Linked DNA regions of Homo sapiens: region 1 is linked to region 2. Evidence: promoter capture Hi-C in 16 types of primary human blood cells and fetal thymus (Javierre and others, 2016). All regions are on one chromosome and are shown on one strand. Each heading gives the region's core, a stretch centred on a gene start or on the middle of the fragment in contact. The rest is flanking DNA. Distances are from core to core; before and after follow the strand shown. Region 1 overlaps KLHL30 (kelch like family member 30). Region 2 holds the start of RAMP1 (receptor activity modifying protein 1).

What was found. Contacts are between HindIII fragments. The CHiCAGO score rates a contact against its expected background, and 5 or more counts as called.
Region 1: a contact is called between a fragment that was not itself captured here and the fragment with the promoter of RAMP1 in region 2, in 6 of 17 cell types (megakaryocytes, erythroblasts, M0 macrophages and 3 more). The highest score is 11.8, in megakaryocytes.

Annotation. Positions count from the first base shown.
Region 1 is chr2:238,148,317-238,153,942 of GRCh38, forward strand. KLHL30 (kelch like family member 30) reads left to right here. Exons shown (of 8, transcript NM_198582.4): 7 at 691-836; 8 at 2,498-4,631. The coding sequence ends at 2,749. Among named protein-coding and RNA genes, the nearest start is that of ERFE, 7.8 kb to the right of the region's middle. RefSeq lists an enhancer at 4,966-5,465. The HindIII fragment of the contact is 8,993 bases long and covers 1-5,626 here.
Region 2 is chr2:237,856,281-237,862,378 of GRCh38, forward strand. It overlaps RAMP1 (receptor activity modifying protein 1), which reads left to right and starts at 3,343. Exons shown (of 3, transcript NM_005855.4): 1 at 3,343-3,447. The coding sequence starts at 3,396. RefSeq lists enhancers at 1,155-1,943, 1,944-2,730. The HindIII fragment of the contact is 3,458 bases long and covers 1,422-4,879 here.

The sequences.
Region 1 (5,626 bases), core at 375-2,874, 290 kb after region 2:
GGTGCCAGTGATCTGAGCCCAGCACCTGGCAGCTGCCTGGCTGTTCTTCTACCCAAAAGGGCCTCACGGGCCGGGAGTGGTGACCCCGACCTCCGAGGCCTCGAGGCCCATCTTGGGCTCTGGACTCTGTGCCAGAGTTTGAGGCCCAGCGCAGCCTCCCTGAGCTCTGAGCCGTCCACCCCGACCCTGGTCTCCAGTCCTGTTTCACCCTCTGGACAGTGTAGATGGTGGCGGGCCCTGTTCTGAGGCGTGGATGTGAGGACCCTTCAAGAGACTGACTGGGCCCAGAGTCCAGGCAAGGCCCACCTGGGTACCAGGCCCGGGGTTGGGGGCTGGGCAGGGAGGGGCCCCCAGCAGTCCCCAGTCAGGGTGGGGTGGGTGGGGCGGCAGCCAGGCCAAAGCACCCCCACCACAGGGAGAGTCCTGAGGGACCCCTGCACCCTCCACAGGCCCCTCACCTATGCTGCAGCCTTGTGAGGGGTCACTGTCCCCAGAGGGAAAGATCGAGGCTGGGTGAGAGGCAGGTGTGGGTCCCTCCCAGCTGCACCGCAGGGACCTACTCCCATTTCACAGACAGGTTCACTGAGGTTCAGAGAGGCACTGAGTCCAGGGTCCCTCAGAGTGGGGCACAGTGCTAGTGCCCGCTCTGGCAACCCTGGTGACGGTGGCCAGTGCCCGTGCCCCCCACAGATGCGTGGAGTGTGATCGCCTCGCCCTTCCTGCCCAAGTACCTGTCCTCGCCTCGCTGTGCTGCACTGCACGGGGAGCTCTACCTCATTGGGGACAACACCAAGAAGGTCTACGTGTACGACCCCGGGGCCAACCTGTGGCAGAAGGTGGGCCGCCCCCTCCCCCAACATGTGTGAGCCCCTGCCCAGGACTCCTGACATCAGAGAGCCAGCCTGGGAAGTGAGGGATGGGGTGCCACAGAGGGCCCACTGCGAAGGGGACAGCGCAGGCTGGGGTGCCCACAGAGGGCCCACAGTGAAGGGGGTGGCGCAGGCTGGGGTGCCCACAGAGGGCCCACAGTGAAGAGGGTGGCGCAGGCTGGGGTGCCCACAGAGGGCCCACAATGAAGGGGGTGGTGCAGGCTGGGGTGCCCACAGAGGGCCCACAATAAAGTGGGTGGCGCAGGCTGAGATCCCCCCAGGCTACAAGGTGACAATAGTGCCCTGGCCCGAGTCCCCTTGAGGACAGGGGTGACGGTGATGGTGGGAGAACGCGATTTGGGTTGCCGGCCACTGGTGCTCTGTCCCTGCACACCCAGCTTCCTACAGAGGAGTGGCCTGTCCTCCTTCTCAGGGAGAAAAGCCAGGTTCAGCCGGAGGGTACTATAGGGACCAGGAGGGAGGGCATCCTCTGCCCCAGGGTGGCCAAGTTGGGGAGGGGGTTCCTGAGCTGAGGGTGAGGTGAGAGCCACCAGCCTGGGGGCTTTCCTGTTGTCCTCAGTGCCATCCCACCATGGCCCACTCTTTGACCATCAGTGCCTGAGGAAGGGGAGGGAGGTGAGCCTCTGGGCGGCCTCCCTGGTGAAGGGGACAGTGCCCAGGAAGTTGGGGATGGGTCCTGGCACCAAGCCAGATGCCCTGGACCTGCCCACCTGCCCCAAGACTCCCAGTCCCTGCAGGCTGAGAAGGTGGAACTCCTTCCTGCAGCCCCCCTGCAGGCTGCTGGCCTGGTGACAGCAGGACTTCTGCAATCCTGCTGCCCACAGCTGTCCCCTGGCGTCACTGCTCAGCTGACCCAGGGCCCCCATTACAGCGGTGAGACAGGTGCAGGGTGGGCCCTGCCAGGCTAGCGTGTCTGCCTGGGCCCTCCCAGCTGGGCCACAGCCAGGCCTTCCTCCAGCCCAGGCCACTGTCCCAGGCTCAGGTCCCAGCACAGCAGGGCTCTGCCTTACCCTCTCCAGGCCTGGGTCCTCACCTCTTCCCTGTCTTCATCTGGAGGCCACAGACCGGCCTCCCGCTTCCCACCCGCCCGGGCTCTTCCTGAAGCCGCAGCTCTCTCCAGCCTCTGGAAAGCCACCCGCCCTCACCCCACAACCCCTCCCAGGGGCACTCCCAAGGCCATAGACTGAGCAGGGGGTGCAGGGGTGAGGCAAGGGAACCCACGGTGGGCTTGTCTAGGCTTTTCCTGATTGTCTGCCAGGGCTGAGCCACACCTGTCTCCTGTGAGACAGCGAAGCCTCAGTGAGGCCTCGAGTCAGCCCGGACCTCCCCGGGAGGCCTCAGGGCCCCCTCTGACTGCAGGGGTTGGAAGTGTCATCCCAAGGGCTGAGGGTCAGAGAGGGAAAGGGACCTCCCCACCAAAAGAAGAGTCTGAGGAGGCTGGAGGGGCTGCGGTGGGCTGCCCAGGGACTCTGCGCTCATGCCCTGGAGGGGATCTGGGCCAGGTGGCTGGCTGTCCTCTCTGCCACTCCCCCGACCCTGCTGAGGGCACCCTCAGCCCTGCTCTCCAGCTCCCGCCCACCGGACGCTAACCCGCTGACCGTGCACAGGTGCAGTCACAGCACAGCCTGCATGAGAATGGCGCGCTGGTGCCACTGGGTGATGCGCTGTACGTGACGGGCGGCCGCTGGCAGGGCATGGAAGGTGACTACCACGTGGAGATGGAGGCCTACGACACGGTTCGGGACACCTGGACCCGCCACGGCGCCCTGCCCCGGCTCTGGCTCTACCACGGGGCCTCCACCGTCTTCCTGGATGTCTCCAAGTGGACCCAGCCCTCCGGCCCCACCCAGGAGCACTAAACCAGGGCCAGGGTCCCCGGGGAGGAGTCCCCACAGCGGCCCCTCATCAGCCTGTGGAACGGCCCCTTTCATTTTCGCTTATTTGTTCACTCGGAGCTACCATTCCTTCCAAGCTGCGCTCAGGCCACCAGGGGTGATCAGACGGCATGGCTTGGAGGACACAGCCTTGGTCTCTGTGGCCACCACACTAAACTCTGAGCTGAGCAGTGACAAGGGCCTGAGTGCCAGACGCTGGCATAACAGGGACAGGAAGCTCTGCTGCCCCTGGGGTTCCCGAGACCTCAGAGAGGGGAGCCGGGGGCCGGGCCAGCATTCCCAGAGCTTGCGAGCCCCACTCCTGCCCCTGGACCCCAGCAGGGGCTTTTGGAGCAGTTGCATGAATGTGGGGTGAACACGGAGCGTCCCAGAAAGCTGAGGCTGCTGGGGAAGGCAGGCCCCGGAGATGGGATCAGCACCAGGTCCTCGTGGGCCTGCTTCTGCCCAGCTCACGGCAGCGTAACTGTGGCCAGCCACCTCCCCTCTCTGGGCTTCAAGCTCCGCGTCCACCACACACGGGGCTGGCTGTGTGGGCTTTGGGTCCCCACTCAGGCTTTGCATGTTGGTGCTGTGTTTCTGCTTCTGTGGACAAAGGAGGCCCCCACCCATCTCTTGCACCCAGAGGGCGGTGCCCACAGAGGCACCAGGAAGGAGGGAGGCAGGGCGTGGGGCGGGGCTGGAGGGTCCCAGGGAGGTGAGCAGTTTTGCTCTCAGAAGGGATTGCCTCCGTCTCTGTGTGTCAGAACAAAGGCTCTTCATTAGAATGGAATTTCCCACCAGGGGACGACTCTTGGGTGCATTGGTGGCAGCCTCCTGAGGGTGAGGGGTAGCATCCGATGGGCCCCTGCCAGCATGCAGCCCGACTCCGGCTGGCTCAGGCTCCGAGTGGCTTCTCCCTCATCCTGAATGAGGCACCCACCTTTGCAGCTAAGGAGACAATGAAGGACTCTCCCTGGGTGCCCAATGGCGTGTCCCTCCTGTCACAGGCTCCGCCCTGGGACATGGGGCTAGAAGTCAGGAGTCGGGCCCGGCCAGGCACAGGCCCTGGTGTTGCCCCAGAGGCCCTGGGCAGCTCCGGTCTCCCGCCGGATCCAGGCTTCCTCTCCAGGACCAGCCCCTGGGTTCCTCCTTAACACCCCCCGCCCCTGGGGACCAGAGGGGCCTCTGACATCCTTGGGTTCTGAGGACGGAAACCCCTGAGCCTCTTGAGCTTCTGTAGGTAGGGATCTGCTTTGCTCCCAGACCTGCCTCTCATAGCTTTTTTTTTTTTTTTTTTTTTTTTTTGAGACGGAGTCTCGCTCTTGTCGTCCAGGCTGGAGTGCAATGCTGAGATCTTGGCTCACTGCAACCTCCACCTCCCGGGTTCAAGAGATTCTCCTGCCTTAGCCTCTCAAGTAGCTGGGATTACAGGCACTCGCCACCACGCCTGACTAATTTTTGTATTTTTAGTAGAAACAGGGTTTCACCATGTTGACCAGGCTGGTCTTGAACTCCTGACCTCAGGTGATCCGCCCGCCTCAGCCTCCCAAAGTGCTGGGATTACAAGGTGTGGGAGAAGTGAGTTGACCCTGGAGGGCCAGACAGAGTGGGGCCTCTGGGTGCTACCAAAGGAACAAGAGCCCAGAGCTGAGGAGACCTTCGGTGGCAGATGGATTGGATGAAGCAAGGGTGAGGGTTTCTGGGGCCCTGGGCTCTGTTTCCATGTGGAAATCTGAAATGTTTTCTAGACAGTGATGGAAGGAGGTCAGCCAAAGGGCTGTTTAAAAACAAAGCCTCCATGTAAACCATTTCTGCAAGAATATTTTAAAATAAATAAAAATAAAACTGAAGACATGAAATGTCAAAATAGGCTGGCTTTGATCACAAAGTAGCCAAAAGGGCGGCGTGCCAGAGCAACGCCTGCTGTCCACCCTTGCACACCCTATGGGAATATGGGCGGTCCTCGGGTGGAAGGAGTGGGCCTCTCCAGGGCCTGGCTCCCAGCTTTGAGGTGCCAAAGTGCACCTCGTCCGATCAGCTGGGCTCCTGATTCAGGGGGCCATCGCAGCCTTCAGGGCACCAGGAGGAAAGGGGCGTCTGCTGGGTATTGAGGTGAGTGGCTAAGGAGAGTTTCACGACGGCCTCTCCCCATGCTGTGGGCAGGGTGAAGGGAGCCCAGTGGCTGGAGAGGCATCCCAGGACAGCAGCAGTGGGAGTGCCACCCCCCCCACCCCGTCTTGGGAGAAGGGAAAGGGCAGACGCAGACTCCAGGGAGCTGCTGAGAGAGGGCCTTGGCGGGGGAACGCAGCCACCACCCCTGTTGTCCAGCTGGGAGGAGGTGGCAGAGTCCATCTGCCCTCTCTCTCTGGCCTGCCCCCTGTCTCCCACTAGCGCCTCCTACAGGCCAAGCCCAACCAGAACCCAGAGGGAAGAGAGGCCATTGACAGGCTGTAGTGGCCACCTGGGGACACAGAACAGGTGGAGAAGGTGGCCAGGGCACCAGGACGGCGGCCAGAAGGTCCGGCACACGTCACCCACTTGAGAGCTTTGCACGAAGGGACATTAATGCACTCACTCACCAAGCGACAGCCATAGGGCAGCCAAGGTATCCCCTTCCATCATCAAAATCCAGGACAGCAAGGACTCATTAGAAGGCTTGAGGCTAATATGGGCTTCTAGAAAGGGGAGCGCGTAGCCTTGGAACATGTGCAAATGCCCACAGGGGTGTGCGGGCGAAACCCACCTCCAGGCCCCATGTGCTCATGTCCTCCAGGTAGGTGCGTGTTGTCTTTCCCATAGAGGATGCTGGGTAAACTGAGGCCCCTCAGCCTTCAGTGAGCACACAGGGCCCTCAGCCAGGCC
Region 2 (6,098 bases), core at 2,093-4,592:
CGGACCTCAGCTTCACTAGCTCACCCGCTGCTCACCTCCTGCTGTGAGGCCAGGTTCCTAACAGGCCATGATCTGGTACTCCTGTGGGGTTGGGGGACCCCTGCTATACGTAATGTCTTCTCTCTCTGGCTGCTTTTAAGGTTTTCTCTTTATTACTGGCTTTAGGCAATTTGATCGTGATGTGCTTTCACATATTTTTCTAAATGATTTTTGTGCTTGGAGTTTGGGGATGTTCTTGGCTCATGGGTTAATAGAAAATGTTCCACATAGTGGTTTTTCACATATTTCCCACCCATCTTCCTCCAGGGGCTCCAGTTACACCTTAGAGTTGCCACCTGGAGTTGCCTCATGGCTCTCTGATGCTTTGTTCTTTTATTGTTTTTAAGTTACGGGATGTAATAGCTACTTGGAAATCATTTGCTCCTGTTAGTTCTTGCTTTTAAGTTTTGTTAGGCAGCACCAGAATAGCCTTTGTAATTTTTACTGACTACAGAGAGGGACTTGCCCTTCTAATTATGCTCTGATGTTCTGTGTATTTCAAGATTTTTCCACTATGGTTGGTGGGAACTGGAACTATTCCCAGCTGGGTGTGGGCTCTTAGGCTCTTTTCCCTTGGGTAGTGTCCTTAGATGTGTGGGCTGAGACTCAAGTGGGACCCTCTGTGATCTCGCAAGCGCATTCTTTGCGCAGCTCTTTCCTCTCTGGTACTATGCCCTGCCAGCGTTAACTGCCTGGCTTCCCCAGACTCTCTTTGGGTTTCCTTTCTCCATCTGTGGTCTGCAAACTCCAGGCAGTGAGCAGTTGTAGCACTCACCTTATTTGTTTCCCTGCTCTCAGGGGTCCCTGCACTTCTTGTGGTCCACTGTGACAACTGTTGTTTCATACATTTTGTCCAGTTTTTTAGTTTAAGATGGGAAGGTGAGTCCAGTCCCTGTAACTTCATCTCGGCTGGAAGCAGGAATCTTATGTTAATAGTGAATTTTTAGCAGTGTTGACCAGGCTTTGATTGTATCTTTAGCCCTACTGTGTATGCAGTAAAGCACTTGGCCATTTTCTAATCTCTTCTATTGTTTAACCTAATGCCCCTCTAGATTGAGGTACCCTGGGAGAGGAATGATTTTCCATGCTACCTATGACCAATTAGAAATACAGATACATCAGACTACAACTTTTGAAGACGGGAAGCCCATAGTAGTTGCTAAGGAATGTCTTACTTAGACCCAAGGTACAGACAGGAAAATCATTAGGAGAGAACATGCCTCTAGGTGTGTGCCTTACTTCAGCATTCTCCAGAGAACTGTGAATTTCTAAAGCATGTGAACTTGAGAAATAGGCTTTGTCTTCTTAGGAAAATGTATCCTTTAGGGGGTGTTGAGAAAACAGCAGTGACAGGGGCCTCTGGCCTTGCCTCCTTGCAGTCAAGCTTCAAAGAGAAAACGTTGGGAAGAAAGACTCCTGCTGAGCCTGATGAAAGAGGAGTCCCAGTTGCCAACCAAAAACATGCAGCCAAAGTCCACAAGCTACAAGTAGAAAGGGTGGCTCAAGCCAGAGTCCCTGGATATGGAGGGCGAGTGATGGCTGCAGAAAGATGCAGGTTCTTCTCCCCCACTATGACTGGCCATCGCCTAGTGCAGGATGTACGGTGGCCCTGTCCCAGGGCTGTGCTGGCAGCCACCCTTCCCCACTAGCTGTGCTGCTCTCACATGGCACGGCCTCTGGCTGCCAGGCCTGTGCTCGGGCCTGCATTTCCCTTGTGCCCTTCTCTCCACCCAGCCCTCAGGACTGCCTGGGCTGCATTTTGTCCAGAATCCTTTGTCTCCTTACTTGCACTGCAGCTGAGGCGAGTGTCCCTTGTTCCGGGTGGCTCCTGTATTGTGGCGCTCATGTTATTGAGAGTCTTAGAGGTCACCCCCTAGATTCACCAATTGAAGGGCAGGGCTTGTCGATCTAACAGTGTCTTGCACATAGGGACACAAATGTCTGTTAAATGAAGAAAGTAGGGATGCCAGGCCACCCAATGGGGTGTATCTCCTAGGGTTCAAGAACAAGGGCTAATCAAGTCAAGAGAATGTGTGCCCTCCCCCACCATCTCACCCCTCACTCTCAGAACACTTGGGGCCCCTGCACAGGTGGTAGGCATGCTGGCCCTGAGTGCCCTCCCAGCCTGTGTTAGAAGAACCAGTGGATGACCTCGCTGTCAGCTGTCTCCCCTTCTCTGAGCTTACTGCAGGTGGCAGCAGCCTCTCAGCCACAGACTGTTCCCTTTCCTAGGAGAAAACGATGGTCACTCAGCAATGCTGTGCGCTTGCAGCTTCCACCACAAAAGAGACAGCTGTGGCCGCAGCACCAGGGTGGTGATTCTTCCCCCTCCAAGGGCAGTGGTGCATTCCTTAGCACAAGTATAAATTTACTGTTGCTAAGAGTTCTCGGAACAGGATAATACAAGAAGGAACCACTGCAAGTGAAATCCAGCCACCAGTAATGCCGAGAGGCCAGGCCTGTGCCTCCCAAAACCTGCTCCTCCGCAGGCTTCCCCGGCCCATCTCCAGAGCGCCCTCCTCTCACCACTTTACATAAACGAATGTACCCAAGATCCCCCATCAGTTTTCCATGCAGCTGCCAGAGTGCCACCAAAGCAAACCTCATCTCAAGACTCTGTGGCCAGGCCCTCACAACCTCCTGCCAGGCTCTCGCTACCTACCCATCAACAGCAAGACTCCCAGGCCATCTCAATCCCCCCAAAGAGCCCTGTTCCTCCAGCCCCACGGCTTCTGTTCACCTGCCGTGCTGTCCCCGCCTCTGCCCACCCACTCATCCTGCAGATCTGGAGCAGCATTCCAGGGCCTGGTAAGTGTGCGCCATTTTGGGTTACTACGGGTCTCGCCAGGCGCGGTGGCGAGTTTTGCCCCCCACGCTCCCCAGCGCCTGCACCTGGGCGGAGAGGTAGATAAGGCTGGGAGATCTTAGCCTTTTGCAAGGCAAACACCAGGCAGGAACGCCCAGAACCTCGGAGGAGGAGGAGGGGAAGATCCCCAGGTGGAGACCAAGGTGCCCCTCACGCTGAGTCGTCTAGGAGACCCTCCCTAGTTTAAAAAGTGTTTATTTGCTCGGAGAACATTTCAGGAGGCCTTCCTGGGACCCCAAGTGTGCCGCCCCCCGGGAGGGGCCTGGAGACGCCCGCGCGGCCCCCCTGCAAAGTTTTACCGGCCCTGGGCGCCCCCGGCCCTGGCACCCACGCGGGGAGCCGCAGTGGGCCGGGCCGCGCGGCCGCCGCCTCCCACCGCTCCCGCGCCCGCTCCCGCCCCCGGCGCGTCTCCTCCGGGCCCGCGCCGCGGCGGGCTCAGTCCTCAGCGGGGCGCGTGGCGAGCGGACTCGACTCGGCACCGCTGTGCACCATGGCCCGGGCCCTGTGCCGCCTCCCGCGGCGCGGCCTCTGGCTGCTCCTGGGTGAGTAGGTCCAGGGGTCCCGGCCGAGCTCCCTTCCCCTGGCCAGCCGGTGTCCTCTAGGGGAGAGGAGGGGAGCGGGTGGGAGCGGGTGGGAGCGGGTGGGGGCGGGCGCCGCGGGCGCACAGATCCGCTGCCCTTGAACGCGGGCCGCCCCGGTTCCAGGCGGGAGGCCCCAGGGCACAGGGGAGGCGGAGGGCGCGGACCGGTGTTGCGCTTCTCGCCGGGGAAGGGACGGCTTTGGGGACGTCGGAGAGCGGGCATTCTGGAAAGCGTGGGGTGAGTCAGCCCTGCACACTGGAGAACTAGTTTTCAGAAGGAAAAACAGGACGCGGGGTTCCCCAGCCCCGCACCTCGTTTCTCAGGCTGTGCGCCGCGGTGACTGCCAGCGCAGGCTCCCTTCCCTAGGCCGTCCCGCGTTGCAAAACCTGCAGACGGGCACCTTGCAGAAGACGCAGTGTTCGGGAATCAGAACCACAGCCGGTTTGTATGGAAATTAGTCAACACTGACAATCTGTCGCCTGCAGCAGTTGCTTGTTTGCAAATCACGTCTTTTGCAGAAATGAGGCCAGCCCTTTTCGGGACACTTCCATCGCTTTTTTTCTTTTTTCTTTTGGTTTGCTTGTTAACTTGGCACTTTTGGCTAATAGAAATTTAAAGAAGGACGGGTCCCTTGGTGAAGTGGTGGAACACGTTTGGCTTTCCACTTGGAGGGAGAAGTGGAGATTAGCGGCAGCCTCATGGCCACAGGAACTGGCCACACACTCGGCAAGAAACGGTGCTGTTCACTTCCCTTGTCTGTAATGTGTTCCTAAAATGCTAACTCAAGCCCCTTCTAAACCGCTTTGGCTATTGCATTATTCCGTGTATTTAGCTACCTTTTAACGGAAACTGTGAATAGGTTACTGGCGTGGGAGAACCCAGTGTCCCTGGGAAGGCCGGAGCAGTTGTTTCTGGTATGTGTGGCCTTTCCCCGGAAACAGTGATGTTGGTCAGAGGCACCTGCCGCACAAGACCTCTTTGGCGCTGGCACTGGGCAAGCAGGGACCACCGGCGCTGTTGTAGCTGGGGGAGTGGTTCGTGGCCCAGCGAGGAGAGGGGCCAGGGCTTCTTGGGAGCCATGGATTTCTGTTCCCTATTTGTAAACCTCTCCAAGGGGTGGCAGATCTGCATAGAATCCTCAGAGGCCGATATAATATAATCTGAAAGCGGATCTTGCCACTTTAGAGTTTTGGCTGAAGTTACGTGGAAAGCAGAATCTCGCAGTAATTTTATTCTCTCCATTTGGCTTGACATGGCCTTCACTGTTTTCATTTACTAAGAAACAAACATTTCTTTGTTAGCAAGGCAGAGAGCTGGGTTGTGGAATATTTTTTACATAAATAACCAAATAAATAAACGTTCTTTACTAGTGTCCAGAGGCTGAACCCTCTAAAGCTTGTGTAAATAAAACACTATGTCACGATCACATATAAAGACCTTCCTTGTTTACCGAGAAAACTATTCATGTTCTGCCGAAAGTCCAAAGTCCTGTAATTTTAACGTTATTTTGAGTGGCCTGGCTAATGTTATCTCTTGGAAGAACAAACAAAACTTTATGAGGTTATCAGTAAATTAATGTCATTGGAGCCCAGCTGTAATTAGTAGAATTACTGAGCACAGGCTGTTTCCTTCCCAAGCTGTAGCACTAGCCAGGTCTCCTTGGTGATGAAGATTTTGCTACCAAGAATGGCAATGTGGAATTTTTTTAAGTACTCTAGTTTACAGGTTTAAGAACTTATCTGTGACAATTTTACAATCAAGCTATTTGTCTTAGGTAGTTATTAAGAATCTCATAATCCGGCCAGGCATGGTGACTCACGCCTGTAATCCCAGCACTTTGGGAGGCTGAGGTGGGTGAATCGCCTGAGGTGAGGAATTCAAGACCAGCCTGGCCAACATGGTGAAACCCCGTCTCTACTAAAAATACAAAAAAAATTAGGCAGGCATGGTGGCAGGCACCTATAATCCCGGCTACTTGGGAGGCTGAGGCAGGAGAATCGCTTGAACTCAGAAGGCAGAGGTTGCAGTGAGCTGAGATCATGCCACTGCACTCCAGCCTGGGTGATAAGAGTGAAACTCCGTCTCAAAAAAAAAAAAAACTTAGGATCCATATATAGTTCTTTTCCCTCTGAGCATCCTGTGTACTCTTCTGTTTACTGGAGACTCTACATGCATTCTGAAAAGTTTGTGTATAGACACCGAAAAGCTGTTCGTTAACCAGGAAAGAAGGATGCGTTAGAAGCCCCTGGTTTTTCGAGTCCATCTTCACTCAGGGAATGCTGGCTGGTGCTGTCACACATGAACTCAGTCACCTGTCCTAGGAAACGCATGCCTTCCTTGGCTGTCACGTGGGAGCCAGGGGTTTTTTTAATGGCTGCAACATTAATTGAAATGTATGACTTTATATAAATACAAGTAGAATTGGAATGACAGGGACATCACAGGAAATGCTATGTGACTGCTTCAGATTGCCATGCGGTTTTAAATCTGGACACAGTTCTCATGCCAAAGTCCAAATCTGAAGGATTCTTATTTGTTAATCAACTCAGTGTGTTTGTTTACCCTCTCTGTGTGTCTAGCTGCAGGAAGAAATTTCTGGATTTTTGTCTTCC